Regions from separate parts of the Homo sapiens genome. Here all the other regions are linked to region 7. Evidence: promoter capture Hi-C in 16 types of primary human blood cells and fetal thymus (Javierre and others, 2016). All regions are on one chromosome and are shown on one strand. The core of a region is centred on a gene start or on the middle of the fragment in contact, and the rest is flanking DNA. Distances in the headings are between cores, read along the strand shown.

What was found. Contacts are between HindIII fragments. The CHiCAGO score rates a contact against its expected background, and 5 or more counts as called.
Region 1: a contact is called between a fragment that was not itself captured here and the fragment with the promoter of CALCRL in region 7, in 8 of 17 cell types (megakaryocytes, endothelial precursors, M0 macrophages and 5 more). The highest score is 18.2, in megakaryocytes.
Region 2: a fragment that was not itself captured here is called in contact with the fragment with the promoter of CALCRL in region 7 in 1 of 17 cell types (monocytes); the score reaches 6.8 in monocytes.
Region 3: a fragment that was not itself captured here is called in contact with the fragment with the promoter of CALCRL in region 7 in 1 of 17 cell types (M0 macrophages); the score reaches 5.4 in M0 macrophages.
Region 4: a contact is called between a fragment that was not itself captured here and the fragment with the promoter of CALCRL in region 7, in 2 of 17 cell types (monocytes and fetal thymus). The highest score is 9.1, in monocytes.
Region 5: a contact is called between a fragment that was not itself captured here and the fragment with the promoter of CALCRL in region 7, in 2 of 17 cell types (fetal thymus and monocytes). The highest score is 7.7, in fetal thymus.
Region 6: a fragment that was not itself captured here is called in contact with the fragment with the promoter of CALCRL in region 7 in 1 of 17 cell types (monocytes); the score reaches 6.2 in monocytes.

The regions. Positions count from the first base shown.
Region 1 is chr2:186,880,114-186,882,961 of GRCh38, reverse strand. No RefSeq gene overlaps it. Among named protein-coding and RNA genes, the nearest start is that of ZSWIM2, 32 kb to the right of the region's middle. The HindIII fragment of the contact is 581 bases long and covers 1,234-1,814 here.
Region 2 is chr2:186,836,344-186,839,280 of GRCh38, reverse strand. It overlaps ZSWIM2 (zinc finger SWIM-type containing 2), which reads left to right. Exons shown (of 9, transcript NM_182521.3): 4 at 112-322; 5 at 1,727-1,975. Among named protein-coding and RNA genes, the nearest start is that of ZSWIM2, 11 kb to the left of the region's middle. The HindIII fragment of the contact is 1,990 bases long and covers 305-2,294 here.
Region 3 is chr2:186,644,569-186,647,402 of GRCh38, reverse strand. ITGAV (integrin subunit alpha V) reads right to left here. Exons shown (of 30, transcript NM_002210.5): 13 at 526-717. Among named protein-coding and RNA genes, the nearest start is that of FAM171B, 48 kb to the left of the region's middle. The HindIII fragment of the contact is 1,759 bases long and covers 581-2,339 here.
Region 4 is chr2:186,479,639-186,482,431 of GRCh38, reverse strand. All of the region lies in intron 1 of LOC105373785 (a long non-coding RNA gene), which reads left to right. Among named protein-coding and RNA genes, the nearest start is that of ZC3H15, 5.2 kb to the left of the region's middle. The HindIII fragment of the contact is 1,180 bases long and covers 894-2,073 here.
Region 5 is chr2:186,585,910-186,588,995 of GRCh38, reverse strand. It overlaps LOC124906105 (a long non-coding RNA gene), which reads left to right. Exons shown (of 2, transcript XR_007087465.1): 1 at 1-6. Among named protein-coding and RNA genes, the nearest start is that of ITGAV, 2.6 kb to the left of the region's middle. The HindIII fragment of the contact is 4,635 bases long and covers 1-3,086 here.
Region 6 is chr2:186,518,828-186,521,693 of GRCh38, reverse strand. It overlaps LOC124907920, which reads right to left and starts at 613. Exons shown (of 1, transcript XM_047446761.1): 1 at 95-613. The coding sequence starts at 517. The coding sequence ends at 110. The HindIII fragment of the contact is 1,106 bases long and covers 950-2,055 here.
Region 7 is chr2:187,446,914-187,449,778 of GRCh38, reverse strand. CALCRL (calcitonin receptor like receptor) reads left to right here and starts at 1,527. Exons shown (of 15, transcript NM_005795.6): 1 at 1,527-1,740. All of the region lies in intron 2 of CALCRL-AS1 (CALCRL and TFPI antisense RNA 1), which reads right to left. The HindIII fragment of the contact is 1,657 bases long and covers 1-1,631 here.

The DNA.
Region 1 (2,848 bases), core at 275-2,774, 570 kb after region 7:
TAGCATCCTATTCTCTTTTGCCACAGTACTTTTCCCTGGCACAATGCCACATGATCAGGAAGAAACACTCAGCTCCTGGCTTCTCCCTAGGGAGTAAAAGAGAAGATGGAAATACATGCCCAATGTTCTGACTTTAGTGGAAGCTGCCAAGGGGATCAGCTTCTGTCTGATCTTTCTTGGAATGCTGATGGGACCCAGAATACTCTGGCTGCCTGGGGGCCACTACGAACAATAGAGCTGAATAGCATGCTGTTGCTTCAGAGGGACCACAGTACAGCAGGCAGACGCTGATAATGACTTTATGGTCTATTGCTCAGGTTGCAAAGAAAAGAACAGGACAGGTGTTTTGGCTTTTGGGGGAGCTGTCCAAGGGACTGATTTCTGTCTCTTTTATCTCAAAACATGGACAGCACTCAGCATAATCTAGATGGCTAGGGACCAATGAAAAGAAAAACAAGCTGAGCAATGTGCTCCTGCTCTAGAGGGCCCATGGTACAGCAGAGAGAAGACAATATAGCTCAGTGGACTCTCCCTCAGGGGGAAAAGAGAAGAGTGGAATATGCATCCAAAGATCCAGCTTTTGGAGGGGATGCCTGAGGCACTGGTTTCTGTTTAGTAAAACTTGGGGTGCTGATAAGACCCAATATCTTCTAGATGCCTGCGGGCCACTGAGAACAAGAACAAGCTGAGCAACATGCTCAGAGAAGATACATCCATAGAAAATGTTTCAGAAATTCTCAAAATCTCTAGCTAAGCTGATTAGTGAATGTCTTTTCCTTTTATAAAGTCAATCTGTAAAGACTAGGAGAGGTGACTGTCTTTTCAAATGCATAGGTACCAACACAAAGTTACAAGGAACATGAAGGAAAAGAGGAAAATAATCCAATCAAAGATACAAAAAAAAAAATTCCAAAAACCAACCATAAAGAAATGAAGGTATGTAAATTTCCCAACAAATAATTTGAAATAACCATAAATATGCTCAATGAGCTGAGCAAAAATGATACATGAACAAAAAGATAATTTCAATAAAGAAACAGAAAATATAAAAAAGAACTTAACAGAAATTTTGGAGAGGAAGAATGCAGTGAGTGAACTAAAAAATTTACTAAAGAGTTTCAACAGCACACTTGACCAAGAAGAAAAGAGAATAACTAAACTTGAGTCATTTTAAATTACCCAGTCAGAGGAACAAAAAGGAAAAGAAGAAAAGAAGTGAAGACGACCTAAGCTTCTTATAGAACACCATCAAGTGGACCAATATATGCACTATGGAAATTGCAGAAGAAGAGAGAGGAAGAGAAACATAAAATTTATTTTTTTAATTGATGAAAACTTTCCAAATCTGGGGAAGAAAATAAACACCTAGATTTAAGACACCCAATCTAACCAAATTAGGAAGATCCAAAGAAATCCACGCCATGCCACATTATAATCAAATTGTCAAAATTCAGACAAAGAAAGACTTTTGAAAGCAGCAAGAGAGTAGCAACTTGTGATTTACAAGACAACTCCCATTAGACTATCAGCATACTTCTCTACAGAAATCTTACAGATGAGAAGAGAGTGTAATGGTATTGATGGCATATTCAAAGTGCTAAAATGAAAAAACTGCCAACAAAGAGTACTAGATTAGGTGAAACTCTTTCTCAAAAATAAAGGAAAAATACAAAGTTTCTCAGATAAGCAAAAGCTGAGACAGTTCACCACTGTAAGACCTGCTTTACCAGAAATGCTAAAGAGTCCTTCAAGTTGAAATAAAAGAGATAAAACAGCAACAGCAACTTCTATACAATTATATAAACTGTAAAGCTTGTTGATAAAGGTAAATATATAGACAAATACAAAATACAATAATAACGTAATTGTAGTGCAAAAATCACTTTTAATTTTGGTATAGAGTTAAGAGACGAAAGTATGAAAATAACTACAACTATATTAAAATGTTAATAGATACACAATATTAAAAGATGTAATTTGTGACATTAATAACATGAAGAGGGGGCAAAAATGTAGTTTTTGTATGCAATTGAACTGAAGTTATCAGCTTAAAATGGATTGTTATAACTATAAGATGTTTTATGTAAGCATCATGGTAACCACACAGAAAATGCCAATATAAGATACACAAATGAGAGAGGAATCAAAGCATGTCCCTACAAAAAAAAAAAAAATCAATGAAACACAAAGGAAGACAACAAGAGAGGAAAAGAGGGGCAAAAGAACTATGAGATAGAAAGCAATTAACAAAACTGAGGTAGTAAATTTTTCCCTATCAATAATTACTTTAAGTGTCCACGGATTAAACTCAACAATAAAAAAATCTAGAGTAGACATAGTGGTTAAAAAAAAGACAAGATCCAACTATATGCTGACTATAAGAGACTCACCTTAGATTTAATGACACACATAGGCTGAAAATAAAAGGATGGAGAAAGATATTTCAGGCAAATGGTAACCAAAAGAGCAAGAATAGCCATACTTAGACAAAATTGACTTTAATTAATTGACTTTAATAAAATGTCTTTATTAAAATTGACTTTAATAAAGTGTCACAAAGAGACAAAGAAGGATATAATAATAACAAGTTAAGAACAGGTTCAACTTGTTACTATTGTAACAGGAAGATATAACTATCTATCTATCTATCTATCTATCTATCTATCTATCTATCTATCTATCTATCATCTATCTGCACTCAACATCACAGCACTTAAATATGTGAAGCAATCATTGACAGAATTGAAGGGCAAAATAGGCAACAAAATAATAATAGCAGACTTCAATATACTACTTTCGACATAGATGTAAAAATCCTCAAGCGAATACACTAAATTTATATATGTAC
Region 2 (2,937 bases), core at 50-2,549, 610 kb after region 7:
AAACTGTCTCTCTGATATTTGAAAGAAAATTCTAACTTTCAGCATAAGTTGTTACCTCTCTGTAGCTCCAATTTTATGACTGGATTTTAATACTTTGGGATTTCTCACTAGCTGCTTTACAACTGGGTCTTGGAGAAAGAGAGATAAGTGACTTGCTTCGGGGGATACATCGAGTTCAAACTCCCCAACCAGGAACAAATGACGAAAATGAACATGTTGAAGAAGATGGGTACATTAAACAGAAGGAAATTGATTCAGAGGATATCTGCTCTATTTGTCAAGAGCTACTTTTAGAGAAAAAGCTTCCTGTCACCTTTTGCAGGTGATGTACTTTTTCTTTAGATTCTTAAAACTAATTAAAAATTCTAAAACATATTTCTGATTTATTACCTTAGGAGACATGATAGGGAAAAAATAGACAACTTTACCTACTGCTAATTTATACTTAATTAACATTCTTTTATTTCCTAACACACACACATATATATAATATATATAATATAAATATATTATAATATATTACAATATAAATATAATATCTATAATATATAAATATATATCATAGAAATATATATATTATATATAACATATATGTTAGGAAGCAACATATATATGTGTGTGTATATATATGTTTTGAGCTAAATATATGCTCTTACTCTAAATCTTTCTGAGCTACACTACAAGGGTAAAAACTGAAACATAATTCCACAATTATTCCTCTTCCCACCTTAAGTAACAAGGGTAGAGTAATTTCTGTGTTTTTATTTTATACACATGAATAAATGTGATGGTTTATTATAGTTATAAAGACTTTTCTGAAAGTAAAGATTATTTTACTTTGAAATTACAAAAATTATTTTTAGTTTTTCAAAATTCTATCTTTAAACCTAAATAATTCAATTTTCACATATGTACAAATCTTTTTTTTTTTTTACTCATTAATGCCAACAATAATATTTCTTTCATCCCTTTCATTCTGTCTACATAACCAATTCTTGTTTTGTTAGACCTCAGATCAGCTGTCTACTTTTATTTTATTTTATTTTTAATTTTTTTATTATACTTTAAATCTTTATTGAGAGTCTAATGTTCATACTTTTCTTCACAGCACTATAAAGTTGGACTTGAAAAATTTGGACAGTCATTTTCCATTGCAATTTTTTTCTCCTGATCATTCTTTTTTCTTCTGATAATTTAACAAAACTTTTGTCCACACTGTAGTTGTTCATGTGTCTGCTTCTATTGCATATTGTAAAATTATTAACTACTTTCCAAAATGGTATTTCTCTCAGCAGATATTTCTTTGGTACTACCATGTATTGTGTGACTTCTGGAAAAGTATGGTGGCACCCCTGCTCTCAGTGAAGCATTTTATTAAAATAATAATAATTATTATTCTCCTTTGTGTTAAGCCTATATTCATTCTCACTTTACAAATGAAAATATTTTAATGATGCAAAATCTTTCACCATTTCATTGGAATGAAGGAAAATTTAAGTTTGGAATTCTGATGTATTAAAGATGATAGATTACTAGAATGAGTGAGTGTGTGTGTGTAATCAAGCTATAGCTGAAAATCAGTTCAGAATCTATTTTTTTGTGGAATAAAGATGGTAGCACAGGAAATTTTATTTATATAAATATATATATAATATATATATATATATACAATGGATATGTAAAACTGCTCTATACAAATGGTAAACTTCAATTTTATCTCTCATAGGTTTGGCTGTGGCAATAGTATTCATATAAAATGCATGAAGATCTTAGCTAATTATCAGAGTACATCAAACACTTCCATGTTGAAATGTCCTCTGTGCAGGAAAGAGTTTGCACCATTAAAACTGATTTTGGAGGAATTCAAAAACTCTAGCAAACTAGTAGCTGCAGCAGAAAAAGAGAGACTGGACAAACACCTTGGGATTCCCTGTAATAACTGCAAACAGTTTCCAATTGAGGGGAAGTGTTATAAGTAAGTGTTATCCGTAAATTATAAGCATGTGTTCTTTTTTATTTTTTTACATCAGGAAACTTTGAGCATTAGAGTACCCGTTCTGTAGCCTCCCTCTTCCTGCATATACTGTTTGACTTGTGTGACGACTGCTTATTTAGGACTCACAGACTGACTTCTATCTCAGTCCAGTATCTCAGGAACTCCAATCGTTTTATTTTCTTCTCCTGTTCAAGGGTATTGGTTTGAGCTCTGGTCCAGATTGGGTCTGAAGTAGCACCCCATCCTAGAAGCTCTGGACACAGGATAGGTGGCTTTAGCCTACATAGGTTTCCAAGCTTAGAGCCTTGCTGGATCTCTCACCCTCTGTAACTTTCTTTGAACTACCTTTGAAGTCATTGCCAAAAATTCCGAAGATTGGGCCAGAGAGACATTGACTGGATTGACTGAATATTTAATCCAGTCCCCCCTACTCCAAATGGCAATGAGTACAGGTTTTGTTTTATTTCATATCTTATACTTCAACAACTACAAAAACATAGTAATTATTAGAGCAAACAATTTTCACTGTGAGTAACCCCCAAACTTTCCCACAATTCTCACGATAAAACATAAATTAATTGCTATGCCTAGGAAATTTGTATTTTCTTAATTAAAATTTTAAGTTAACAGTACATTAAGAAGAAAACATTATTTCAATCTTTGTCACATTTTTTTGAAATGTATCAGTTTATTTTTCAGCCTTCTTGAATTACATTATGATGAGCCCAATCTAATTTATATATATATTAAAACTCTGTCATAAAACCGTAAAACATTATCACATCCAACAGCAAATTATACCTTTCTCCTTTGAATTTAGTTTTGTTTTCTGTATGTGTAACACAAAAGAAAGTTGATTATTAACAAAAGTATTTACTGGAAAATGGCTGGCCTGAGAAGGCTCCTAGGGAGGATTCTAACTTGGGGTGGAAGTACAGAAT
Region 3 (2,834 bases), core at 211-2,710, 800 kb after region 7:
TTAGCCAGGCATGGTGGTGCTTGCCTGTAGTCCCAGCTACTAAGGAGGCTGAGGTGGGAGGATGGCTTGAGCCCAGGAGGTGGAGGCTGCAATGAGCCAAGATTGTGCCACTGTACTCCAGCCTGGGCAATAGAGACATACCTTGTCTTAAAAAAAAAAAAAAATCACAACTATTAGTCAAGTACATATATTCTACATAATTAAAAAAATAAAAAAGATAGCTAACATTAAAACAGCTTAGAATGAGCATTTAACTTTTGTTTATAACTTCTGTAATACTCTTCTCATTTCATTAAAGACTACAGGAGAAACTCAGAGTACACTGTACACTCCCAGGAAAGAGAGCTGACTTTTCTTCATATACCCTTAGGTGACGGGAATGATGCCTTGAATATTTTAGAGGTTTGATCAACATATGAAATACTGAATTGCAATAATTTATAACATAAATCAAGAACAGTAACTAATACTATTTGCTATTAGGACTGAAAAATCTAAGGGCTCTATGTGTTGATAAGAAAGCACCTGGATATCCATTTTTGTCTATATCTGTGGCTCCTTTCATTGAATAGCCAAAGCTTGGTGGCATGCTTCGAGCAGCCCACTGCCCTTCAAGGATTTGAGATGGGACTGCGTTCAAGCCTGTTGATCTTCCATTGAAGATATAAACAATTCCTTTTTTATCTTCACCCCCATATGGAGCAGCAATTGCAATATCTGTGGGGAAAAAAAGAGGAGGGGGAAGGAGAATGACAGAAGTAAGGAGGAGGAAAAGAAAGGGAAGAATGAGGAAGGAACGAGAGAAGGGGGGAAGAGGGCAAGGATGAAGAGAAGAAAGTTTCAGTACTTGTAATTATTTGTACAGATCTTAATATTTATAGAACCCATTCATCATGATAAATACTAATTCAAAGTTCAGTAGGGTACTCTTTATCCATAAGCAATAATCTAATTCAAGGAAACTCAAGCAAAACTGTACAGAAAAGACATTAATTTAGGGCCAGATAATCTGGCTCTGACCTTAAACCAATCACTTAAACTTTCTGGACCACAAATGCTTCCTCATTAAAACTAGGGGTAGGGGATGGAGGAGGACACATCAAAAGATTCATCTAAAGTTTATTTTCACTCTCAAAATTCTAGATAATTTATTTATGGATGGTATTGTTTTTTCTGAACAGAAGCCAATCTGCTCAGAAATTCGTAAGTTGTGACTTCATCTTGATCTTGCTCAACTTACACTGAAAGAAGATAAATGAATAACATTTTAAATCTTTAAAAAACCCCAAACACCAAATTATCTTTTCTACCTCTAAAATGTATTACCAATCTGCCCACTTCTCTCTCTGCTGCTGCCACCCTAGACAAGTCATTGCCGCATTTTGCACTTAAACAGCCTTTTTTTCTTTTCTTTTTAATTTTTGTTTGTTTGAGACAGAGTCCCGCTCTTTTCCCCAGGCTGGAGTGCAGTGGCACAATCTTGGCTCACTGCAAGCTCCACCTCCTGGGTTCACACCATTCTCCTGCCTTAGCCTCCCGATTAGCTAGGACTACAGGCGCCCGCCACCATGCCCGGCTAATTTTTTTTGTTTTTTTTTCAGTAGAGACGGGGTTTCACGGTGTTAGCCAGGATGGTCTCGATCTCCTGACCTCGTGATCCACACACCTCGGCCTCCCAAAGTGGGGGGATTACAGGCGTGAACCACGCGCCCGGCCTTAAACAGCCTTTTAAGTGGCCTCCCACTTCTACTCTTGCCTGTAACTTTCTCTTCAAAAGGGCCAAACATTCACCATATCATGTCACACCCATCCCCATCTTAAAATCCTTCAATTAGTTCCCAAAGCATTTAGAGTAAGTTCTAAACCCTACCTGGTATTTCCATTGTTTACCATGCAAATCTCATTCCTCTCCCCATCCCCACCCCCACGCCATCCAGTTTTTTACCCTTATTTACTCTTTCCAGCAATCCTGGCCTTTTTTTCTGTTTATTAAACACACCAAGCTAGCTTCCAACTATGGGCTTGTATTTGCTATTCTCTCTGCCTTTTGCTCCAGAGCTTTTACAACTCTATTCCTTCTATTTGTCCAAATGATAGATCAATGTCGTTCTGTCATTAGATCAGCTGTCATTCTGTCAGCAAGCTATTCCCTAGCCACCCTACGCAGCAGTGCACCACCCCTCTCGACCCCCTACTTTCTCTATCACCCTCTCTATCCCGAAACTCTATTATATTACCTTGCCTTCTAAAAAATCCATCATCTTTATCACTATCTGGATTTCCCCATTGTTTACTTATTCTATGACTACACAAAGTAAGTAAGCTATAGAACATAAGCTTCATGAGACCAAGGACATGTCGTATCTTGCCTATCACAGACCCTACGTACCAGTCATAACAAATTGCCTCAATTTCCTTAATGTACACGAGCTGTCTCATAGCTCCTTAATAAGCCATGCCTCATCATCTCCTGGCTCCCCTGAAACATCAACGATGCCTTGATCACTCATCCTTTATATGAGACCATTAAGCCTGGGATCTCAAACACTGTGATGATCACATTGAGGTACTTTTTTTTTTTTAAACATATATGCTGCCCCCATTGGATGCTGAGTTTCTTAAAGACATGAGTAGACTCTGATTTATGCTCATTTTCACCACCTAGAAGAGTGCCTGGCCTGCAGTAAACACCAACTAAGAATTTGTTATCCTTAAAAATGAGTACCTAACTTATGTAAAAGTATTCTTTTTATCCTTTTTTAAGCCTTAAAGGTAAATCGGCTGGGCACGGTGGCTCACGCCTGTATTCCCAGCACTTTCAGAGGCCGAGGCGG
Region 4 (2,793 bases), core at 234-2,733, 970 kb after region 7:
TATACATATATACAGGTTTTAATTTGCATTGATGATTATTCCATAGCTACAATAGTTAATTTTCTTGTAATAAGCGTAAACATTTTTCATACATTTATATAGTCTTAGAAGACAAAATCAAAACCCTGTAAGGAATTTTTTTTTCTTCTCGGTAAGTTTGTAAACTGAGACATGATATTTTATTGTTTTCCCATAACGCATTGCATATTTTCTTAAATATAGGTGCTTAATAAATGTATATTTTAGTGGTTCTCAAATTATGCTCATATGAAAGAGTTCAGTAGGTTGGACTAAGATGATCTACTAAATTGAATGATGATGTATTTCTAATTAACAGAAAAATATTTTTTTTCAATTTTAAGCTTTTTTCCCTCATAGTCATTCTTAAAAAATTAGTAGATTGCTAGCATTTTTCACCTAGCAGATTAAAAAAAAAAAGAAACAGTAATGGATCAAATATTTCATGTGACTGGAAAACCTATATATTCAAAATAATGTGGGGACATTTATGTAAAATATGGTCTTATGTTACAGTCTTTTTGGTGAAATTAAATTTATTAATATATTTTAAATTTTTCCATATAACACCACAAGTTCCAGGTATTTGCTACCTGAAAACATTTCAGAACCACTGTTTTAATGGATTGAATACCATCTCACCTTATAGCTGGATTTAGTGTCATTTATCCTTGAATCCTAAAACCTTTGAAGTGGGAAAGTTGTTCCTAAAAGAACTATCAAATTAGATTCTTCTTATGAAAGCTAATTTTCCATTTCTCTTTTATGACACACTGTATAAAAGGTCATGTTTTATAGTCAAAATATGTGGGTTAAATTTCTTCCCTTCCACTTATATAGGTGACTTTAGGCAAATTGTTGGACACTGGTAAGCTTTACTCTTCTTATATATAAAAGAGGAATAATACTGTTCCTAGCTCATAGGGCTATTGGAAGGACGAAATGATATAATGCATGTCAGTCACTTATTAGAGTACTTGGCACATGTAAACACATAATTAGTGGATACTACTATATAATTCAGGTCATAGTGTAAAGAAGTAAGGAATTCAGCATTGATACATTAATTTCTAAATGAGCTTACTCCAGTAAATATGGAGAATATAAAATCAGGAGATTGGGTGACTGAATGTGGGAGCTGAGGGGAAGAAGTCAGAAAGTAGAAGAGGATCCAGGTGGCAAGCATGGGCAAGTGATCAATGTGGGTGCCAGGGAGGTTACATAGGCAATGATTGGAATGTGTGGCCAGGGCAAGAAATAACATATCCAGTTTTGGCTCTGCTGAATTTATGGTCCTAGTGCGTCATTTATGTGGCAAAATCCAATGGTATATATTTGACTTGTAAACTCAGAAGAGAGTTTAGAACATGGTGGCCAATGGGAATGGATTACTTTGAAAAAGATTGTAGAGAGCCAAAAAAGAATAAAAATGTGAGGAACAATGTTTAAAAGGTAAATACAGAAAAAGAAGTTTAGGGAGGAAAGTGAAAAGAGGCAACTGTGGCAGGGACCCTAGGGAGAAGAACTTTTTGGGTAGTAGAGTATCAACAGGGCCTGGTAATTTTGCCTTGAGTTGGCTTAAATACGGCTACTTACTCATTCCACATTAGGATGAATCATACTGGACATCCAATTTAAGACATGGCTATCTGAAACAAGTGTATATTTCCAACTCTATTGACCTATATTTCTTTTCTTACATATATGGATACTGCCATCTGCTGATAACTGGCATTTTTGAGGGGTCTTTTTTGTAATTATGACATTGTATTTAAGGTATCGTTTCCCTTGTTCCCTTTTTGGATATATTCTTCCCACAGGTCTCCACATGGCTGACTCATTTTCATCCTACAGATAGCAGCTCAGGTGGCAATTCTTCTAAACAGTTATCCCTGACCACTACATCTAAACAACTTCTACCCTCTGCTCCTAGTTAATATCTATGTCATCATGTGTTTCACTCCTTTAATTTTAGATTTATCTTAATTTGTAATTACTTTGTGTTTTTATGTCTTCATTTCTTACTTGGGTATCTCTTGTCCCAGAATATAAGCTTCATGGGAGCAGGAACCTTGGCTCCCATCAGGTGCCTAATGCAACCTGTCTCTTAGAAAGAGCTCAATAAATGTGCTTTTAAAAATGAGCGATGGTGGCCGGGTGCAGTGGCTCACGCCTGTAATCTCAGCACTTTGGGGGGCCAAATGTGAATCACTTGAGCCCAGGAGTTCGAGACTAGTTTGGCAACATGGCAATACCCCGTATCTACTAAAAACACAAAAATTAGCTGGGCGTGGTGGCACATGCCTGTAATCCCAGCTACTTGGAAGGCTGAGGCACGAGAGTAGCTTGAACCTAGGAGGGGGAGGTTGCAGTGAGCAGAGATTGTGCCACTGCACTCCAGCCTGCGCAAGGAGCGAGACTTGGTCTTGGAATAAAAAAAGATGATGAGCGAGAACTAGAGCTGGCTGAGAGTTCTTGCCCCATTTGTGCTATAAGAGTATATTTAGTTTTGGTATTTATCTTATCTTTTGAATATGAATTTAACAAAATCTTCTGTGCCAAGATGTTATGATCACCCTGATACATCTGGGGATTTTTCCAATAATAATGGTGATGTGCTATTTGTCCCTAAGTCCAAGATTACACAATAAAGGAACAAAATTAATAGATGGCACTTACAAGGATAAATGTCTTTAACTAGGTGTATGCATACATTTGTAGGTGCCTTTTCTTTTGAGTTCCCCTGATGATGCCTCAGCTGCTTGTCATGGAATG
Region 5 (3,086 bases), core at 582-3,081, 860 kb after region 7:
TTACAAGTAAGTACTGGAACAGTAATTTCTGTTTTCCCAAAGTAACTATTAAAACTCAATCATAATATACATTAATAACTATCAAATAATCCTGTGAAAGGATATGTATATAAATGAAAGTGAAATGCCTAATTCGAATTTGTAATATTTATTGGACCAGGTCCAGGTGCTCATGCTGGCAATCTCAGCACTTTGGGAGACTGAGGCAGGAGGATTGCTTGAGACCGGGAGTTCCAGGGGAACATAGGGAGACCTCATCTCTACAAAAATTTAAAAATTAGCTGGGAGTGTGGTGCATGCCTGTAGTCCCAGCTATGCCGGAGGCTAAGGCAGGTAGATAGATCGCTTAGGCTCAGGAGTTCCAGGTTATGATAAGTCATGAGCCTGCCACTGCACTCCAGCCTGAGTGACAGAACAAGACCCTGTGTTTAAAAAAAAAAAAGGCCGGGCGAGGTGGCTCATGCCTGTAGTCCTAGCACTTTGGGAGGCTGAGGCCGGCAAATTGCCTGAGCTCGGGAGTTCGAGACCAGCCTGGGCAACACAGTGAAATCCCGTCTCTACTAAAATACAAAAAATTAGCCGGGCGTGGCGGCATGCGCCTGCAGTCCCAGCTACTCAGGAGGCTGAGGCAGGAGAATTGCTTGAACCCGGAAGGCGGAGGCTGCAGTAAGCTGAGATGGTGCCACTGCACTCCAGCCTGGGCCACAGAGTGAGACTCCATCTCAAAAAAAAAATGCATTAAATATTTCCATTTTTAAATTTGACTAAAAGATATGCAGCAAAACCTTTGGCATGTTTTACAAGGCATGGTCTAGCATCTGCCTGAAAGAAATTACTGATTGAGAGAAGAAATCCTACACAAATCCTTACACATAAATGCAAATACAGCTTATTTCTCACCTTCTTTCCTAATACACCAAAGAGGCTATTGATATGTATGCATAAACCCAAAGGGTCTTTTATATCTTAAAAACATGACAACCAGTCTACCTGGAAATCCATCCAGGTAAGGAAGACAGAAGAGTTTAAACTCTGGCTAGATCCAGTAAGTCTCCCACTCCTCAACTTCTGATCGCAGGACAGGGGTCCGACAGACCAAGGTGGAGTGAAGAAATGTGAGAGGACCAGGGAAAAGAAGAAGCCCACGAAATGACAACACATGTACACCCACCAAAACTTGGGTGAACAACACACCCCCAAATAGGGCTACAACTTACTGAAAGCACTTACTGTTGAGCCATTCTTTATGAGTTTATTTTGAATGAGCAGTCTTGAAAATCAAGGAATTTGTTTTTTTTAAAAAAGCAAATAGTCCAGGCACTGTGGCTCATGCCTGTAATCCCAGCATTTTGGGAGGCCGAGGTGGGTGGATCACCTGAGGTCAGGAGTTCAAGACCAGCCTGGCCAACACAGTGAAACCCCGTCTCTACTAAAAATACAAAAATTGGCCGGGCGCAGTGGCTCACTCACACCTGTAATCCCAGCACTTTGGGAGTCCAAAGTGGGTGGATCACGATGTCAGGAGTTCAAGACCAGCCTGGCCAAGATGGTGAAAGCCTATCTCTACTAAAAATACAAAAATTAGCTGGGTGCAGTGGCAGGCACCTGTAATCCCAGCTACTTGGGAGGCTGAGGCAGGAGAATCACTTGAACCTGGGAAGCAGAGGTTTCAGTGAGCCAAGATCGTGCCACTGCACTTCAGCCTGGATGACAGAATGAGACTCCATCTCAAAAAAGAAAAAACAGTAGCCAGGCATGGTGGTGTGTGCCTGTAATCTCAGCTACTCAGGAGACTGAGGCAGGAGAATTGCTTGAACCCGGAAGGCAGAGGCTACAGTGAGCCGAGATATTGTGGTATTGTGGGCCACTGTGCTCCAGCCTGGGTGACAGAGCGAGACTGTCTAACAACAAAAAAAAGCAAACATACATTTCAATTAGGAAACTATGAAGCAGACTAACCCAGTGGCTTTAGAAACTTGGGGTTATAAATGCAGGCATCTCTTTGTGTGACCATGCTCGAGCAGCCACTCACACAGTGCCTTGCAAATTGTATTGTAGAACATGTCAATTCAGCTAGTGCTGATTCAAAATCCACATTGCACCTGGTACTATGTGCATGGGACAGAGAAAAGAATGTTTTAGTCTACGAAAGAATGGTGGTGCCCCTCCCCTACCCCCATGACACTACTCTTTGAACTACATTATAACAGTTTTCCAACTTAAAAGGAGAACTTCTGTGTATACATTAAGTATTCATTGAATATAATCCTTTTCTTAGAAAATAAAATATTAGATAGTAAAAAGAATTTGTACTTTGAATTTTATCCTCTACTACCCTATACTTTAGTAAAAATCTTGATTCCAGTGGTTTCTGTAAAATAAAGCACCTGGGTTCCATTCCTGGCTTTGCCAACTACTAGTTGTATGACCCTGGGGAAATCAATCCAACCAATCTGTGCCTCAGTTTTCTTATCTATGAAAGGGAAAGGGGAGTAATACTATGTCTATCTCTTAGAATTGAACAGTTCTTGTTGCCATTAATACTTTTAAGACTAATAGTTTAGCATGGTAGCAATAATAAATTTTTTTTTTTGAAACAAAGTGTCACTCTGTCACCAGGCTGGAGTGCAGTGGCGCCATGTCAGCTCACTGCAACCTCCGCGTCCTGGGTTCAAGCAATTCTCCTGCCGTAAATTTTTATGACTATTATTTCACTCTCTTAGTTCCCCTAGTGTCTGTCCAACAGGTCCTTCAATAACCATAATCAAACCAGGGCTTCACGCAGCTCTGTCTCTGCAAACAAAGGAACTTAGTCCATAATTTAAGAGGAATTTCAAATTTTATCTCTCTCAAAGAACCTCAAAGGAGATTCAGTTAATAACCCATGGGAACTTCAGAAATCTGCTTCTTCTACTCTCAATTTCTCTGGAGACTTTAACCCACTAAACCCTGCCCTGGAATTTTTGTTGCTGTTTGCTTGTCTAACTCACTCCTGTCACTCCTCTCTTGGCTGTTTATTAGGGAGACTGACTTGTTCTCTCTTCACCCCCATAACCACTTCCACTCCCAGTGCTGCCCTTTCCTAT
Region 6 (2,866 bases), core at 253-2,752, 930 kb after region 7:
TGACACAGCACATGTTTCTGCGAGCACAGGGTTGGGGGTAGGGTTACAGATTAACAGCATCTCAAGACAAAATTTTACTTGGTACAGAACAAAATGGAGTCTCTTATGTTTACTTCTTTCTACATAGACACAGTAACAGTCTGATATCTCTTTCTTTTCCCCACATTTCCCCCTTCTTTTCGACAAAACCACCGTTGTCATCATGGCTCGTTCTCGATGGTCGCTCTCTTCGGAGCTGCTGGGTACACCTGCAGACACTGTTGATACAGTCTTCAAAGCTGCAAGCAGCATGTTCTCTGGAGTTTGTGTCACCTTTGTGTTCTCTAGGCTTTTTTTTAGCTAACTGTGTCAGCTTCTTTAATTGTGCCCATGTCGGCGGCTCCGCCTTCTTGGTGGATGGCAACTTCATCTGTTCTTCTGACATCACCATTCTGTTCATCTTGTGAGCCGATGGTGCTCGACTGCGGTGTCTCTGTCTCCGTGGAGGTGCTTTTCTTTGCATCTCCGACGGGTTCATTGTAGAACTTCAAATGTCACAAGGCTGACTGTAGACGTACTCGGGAATCTCGTCGACTTGTCCTCAATGATCATGCTCGAGCATACCTTCAACCTAGAGAAAAGCACCCACGTTGGGCACCAGATGAAGGGGTGGCCTGCCCCTCCACACCTGTGGGTGTTTCCAGTCGGGTGGGACGAGAGACTGAGAAAAGAAAGAGACACAAAGTATAGAGAAAGAAAAGTGGGCCCAGGGGACCGGCGCTCAGCATACGGAGGACCCGTGCCACCAAGAATTCAGATTATTTGCCAACATTGTGAAATGAATTCATGCAGTTGTGAGAATATGCAAAATGTAGAATTTATTACTCATCAATGCAAGCAATTTTTTCCAGGTTGGCACTGGGCCTTTCAAATGTAAAACTGATAATTTTTAATATGGTCACACGAAGCTTGTTATTTCAGTGATAAGCTGTGGAGAGTTGATAGTTGACTCTAGCTAAAATCTTGCCAGACACTATGTTGTTTGACATTAGCTAAATGATTATACCAATGATGTGTTCAGGGCTTGAGGCAAAACAAAATGTCATCTTATTATTTTCCTTGAATTTCTAGAGCTTAGTTTTTAAAGTTTAGATTTTGAACAAGTTGTCATTTAAAAATGTTTTCCCTGTTTTTACAGTAGTCTTCAGTATGTGGACAAGTAAATGAACCAAGGAAACAAAAGTGGTCAAACGTGTCTCAATATTTCTTGAGCTCTAATATCCAATTTAAAGCAATAGTTTTAATCTGAACACCTGAAAATAAAAATGAGACATAATGATATATCTGTATCTTTTCTGAGGTCATCCACTGAATATTTCAGCTCCTATAAAGTTCTATAGGGTTTTAAATGATTTGTTAGTAGTTACTGTGGCTTCAACATAAAAGCAACATATTTAGGGGAATCACTTTAAACAGTGAAGTCAAAGGAAACATGTATTACAACAAAAACACTCTTTATGCAATTCAATAGACCTCTTTATTAATTTCTCCTACAGTTCTTGACGTTTATATTACATCTGTTATTTTAGTGAGATTTTAATATTTCATACTCCATTCATATATAAAGAATTTCTACTCAAATGCTTAAAGTATCATTCATGTTGGCCATTAAAAAAGAATCTTATTAGAAAAATCAGATTATTCTTTTCAGGTTGTCTTAAACCTTAAGTTTCTCAATATTAGCAAAGCTATTTCTGTCAAAAGTAGAGTAATGTTGATTAAAAACATAAGCTACCTGGGTAAACATGAGGATCTAGCTGTGAGGAATTAGCTGGGGGTTCTGTAGTACTCAATGCCTATTTTAGAAAAAGGATCCAATCAATAACCTCAACTGCTAGGTTAAGGAACAAAAGCAAATTAAACCCCATGTAAGCAGAAGAAAAGAAATAAAGATCAGAGGGGAAATCAGTGAAACAGCAAATTTATAGAGAAAAATCAGTGAAACCATAAGCTGGTTCTTTGGGTTGATCGAAAGTTGACAATTACTTTTGCACCAACCTATATAAATTTCAAGCTTTAACAGCAGAAGGGTCAATTTCTATGTTTAATCAAAAATAACTGTCTATGGGACTATTGAGCTGGTTTCAACAGCATTATCCTGATACAAAAACTACAGATTAATTCATCAATTATGAACATAGAAACAAGTACGCTAAGTTTTATCAAATCAAATCCAACAATATATAAAAAGAAAATGTATCAGGATCAAGTGGGGTTTATCCTAGGAATTCAGGCTGTTTTCACCATATTAATAAGTTTTTAAAAAAGCCATTTGATCATCTCAGTAGATTGAGAAAAAGATTTGACAAAATCCAAAATCCATTCTTGATTAAAACAAAATACAAAGCAACCCCCCACTAAGTCTCAGTAAACTAGGAACAGAAAAAAAACTTCCTCAGTGCATTTATGATATACAGCTAACGTCATTACTTAATCATGCAAGACTGAATGCTTTCCACTTAAGATCACAAACAAGGCAAGAATGTTTGCTCTCATCACCAGCACAGTACGGCAGAATTTGACCAACTTTTTCTGTCAGTCTCTGTGGCAACTACACAACTCTGCCATTGTAGCATGAAAGCAGGTATAGACAGTGCATAAAGAATAAAACTGTCTATAAGTTCGCTGACTCATGCAATAACATAAGACAAAGAAATAAAATGTATTCAGATTGGAAAGAAAGAAAATCATCTTCATTTACAGAGGAGTTTGTCTATGTAGAAGACAATGTTGTGAAATCAACAAAAAAGCTACTAGAATAAGTGAGTTTAGCAAGGTAGCATGATAAAATTAAAATGCAAAAGTCAGCTGTATTTCTATATACTAA
Region 7 (2,865 bases), core at 278-2,777:
AGAACCGGTTCACCAGTGTAACTCAGTTTCTTACAAGTCTTTTCTATTAACCATAATTATAGAGATGAAAGTATATCTATTTTTTATATGTCTGTATTTTGTAATCAATATTGATCTCACTGGTCTTAAAATCAAAGATTGTATAAACATTTTCTTCCACTAATTCAGACAATAAAAATGTCAACATGAGCACCCTGCTTTAAAAACATGATATTCCTGAATTTATTTTGCCTTTACCTCCTTTGTCTGCCTACAAGGTGTATGGCACCTCATTTTATCCTGGAATTGCACTAACAATTTACTAAGAGTTGAATGATCCTCACCGTATCTTATCTATTTCAAAATGTTATGAAATTTGTCGATTCAAAGCCTTAGACATAAAATCTATCTCTTCTAGTTTATAGATGAGAAAATTTATGCCCTGATAAATTAAGTGACTTTTAGTGCTGTTTAGGTTATAGGGATTATAATTATTGCTTCATATCGAACATTTACCAAATTATAAAAATGATAAAAGCATTTTAAATTTACATTTTCCCCTGATCATATCCAATGATGTATTAAACATATTCAGGAAAAACTATGCTTTGAGATGAAATTTTGTCTAAGAAATAAAGTATCCTTTGTATTTATATTATTTTATAATATTATGTTTACAACATCTATATTTTCTTTAAGATTATATTGACTTACAAATATTGTGGTATAAATTATTTTATATTATAAATAACATAATTATACCAAATATTTTTAAATGTGTGCAATAATTTTAAAATTATGAATTATTCAAAAGGCTATTTTGTCAAATATATATACTTATATATTATAAAAGAAACACTCTATACACACACATACACAACCTGAATTTATAACACATACACTCATGTTCTTATGAAGAAGGTAAAGGAAAAAATAAAAGATTTAAAAACTGCAGGATAAAGTTTCTTGATCTAATTAACTGATTAGGAACTGCACTTAGGAACTGATGGAGGAACAGCACCCAATTAGCAGAGCTCCAAATTAAGAAGAGCCAAATCACAAAACCAGTTATGATGAATACAGTTAATTTTTTTTTCTGTGTTGTGCTATGAACACAGATTTGTTAGATTTTTTTTCCTGGATACTTTGTAAGCTATAATTCAACACACACACACACACACACACACACACACACACACACACGCCTAACTCCTTTGATTCTTTGAGCAGAATACTATATTCAGATTTCCTTCAAATCACAAGTAGCTTGTTTGGCAAGTTCTAACAGAACTCAGTCAAGGTGAAAGCCAGCCAGCTTTTTACTGGTAACAATGTATTCACACAGCCTATGATCTCTCTCTGTTCAGGCTGCTTCTTGCTCTTGTCTCACAATAAGAAAGGAGTGCTGCTTTCCTGGGGTATGCTATTTGAGAAAGAAAGTAACCTAACACTAACTGCAGGCGGGGTCAGAGTGATGTAACAGGAAGCTCTGATGTTTCCCTTCTGCTGCTGATCACTTACAATCTGACAACACTTACAATCTACTCAGAACAACCTCTCTCTCTCCAGCAGAGAGTGTCACCTCCTGCTTTAGGACCATCAAGCTCTGCTAACTGAATCTCATCCTAATTGCAGGATCACATTGCAAAGCTTTCACTCTTTCCCACCTTGCTTGTGGGTAAATCTCTTCTGCGGAATCTCAGAAAGTAAAGTTCCATCCTGAGAATATTTCACAAAGAATTTCCTTAAGAGCTGGACTGGGTAAGTGCACATTCAAAATAAATATATTTATTCTAAGTAGTATTCTCATATAGTTTGGCAATGTTTCTATTATAGAATTTAGTAGATAGCACTGAAATAATGTTGAAACATAGTCTCACTTATTTCACATGCTAGAGAAAATACAGCCTACTACCCCAACATGAATACAAAATCTAATACTACTAGATAATATTGTTTACCATGGTATTCTAGAAAATAAATTTAGCAAGTATTAAAAATCTAAATGGATTAAAAGACATATTTCTGAACAAATACCTTAATCACAGAACAATGTCTTTTAAAATTAGCTCTAATATTAGCTAAGCTTGAATCTTGACAACTGGAAAACATTTCTCCCCCCGGAAGGGTCTTTAAACTTTCCATGTTATCAGCTGTAAGAAAGAGGTGAAAGAATAACTACTTAATGGGTCTCGGAGTCTCACTTACTCTGTGGTTGATCATAATGCAGAGTTTTGAAAAGTAATCACTTTGTATTTATTACATTTGCTTTTATTTGCCTTTCACCTTTATTTACACATATATCTGTAACTACTGAACTAATTTTTGTGTTCATTGTTGCCAGATGTGTTTAAATCTCTCTTCTGCTAACCCTGAACTGTTTGCTCTTTATTTGGATCATGGTGTCGGCTACAAAGAAAAAAAAAAACCTAGAGTTTAGGAAATGTAGATTTTTAAAACAATTCTTAATTTTGAAATCTTTAAGAGAATACTTCAACTTGACTGGTTCCCCTCTGCAAGCTTTTGGAGGGGGGTGTGATACCACGATATCTGTGGATAAAGAAACGTGACAGCTTTCCCAAAGAAGTATATTAGACGATTAAACAAAGAAATTAAAGTATTTATTAAAAAAGAATTTCCAGGATGGAACTTACTGAAATGTTGGATAAAACATCTGTTAATGCTCATTCCGATAGTACAGACTGTCCTGAACAATTTAAGAAACTAATGTCTGCTTAATAAATTGTTTGTGTAGATATATCACAAATTTGTTGCTGGAGAAAGTTTGATGTCAAATTTTAAATGATGTTGATAGATATGATTTTTAAGTTATATATTTTCTTACCTAAATGCAATTATACTTTCCAAGATGTCCTGCATTGGAAG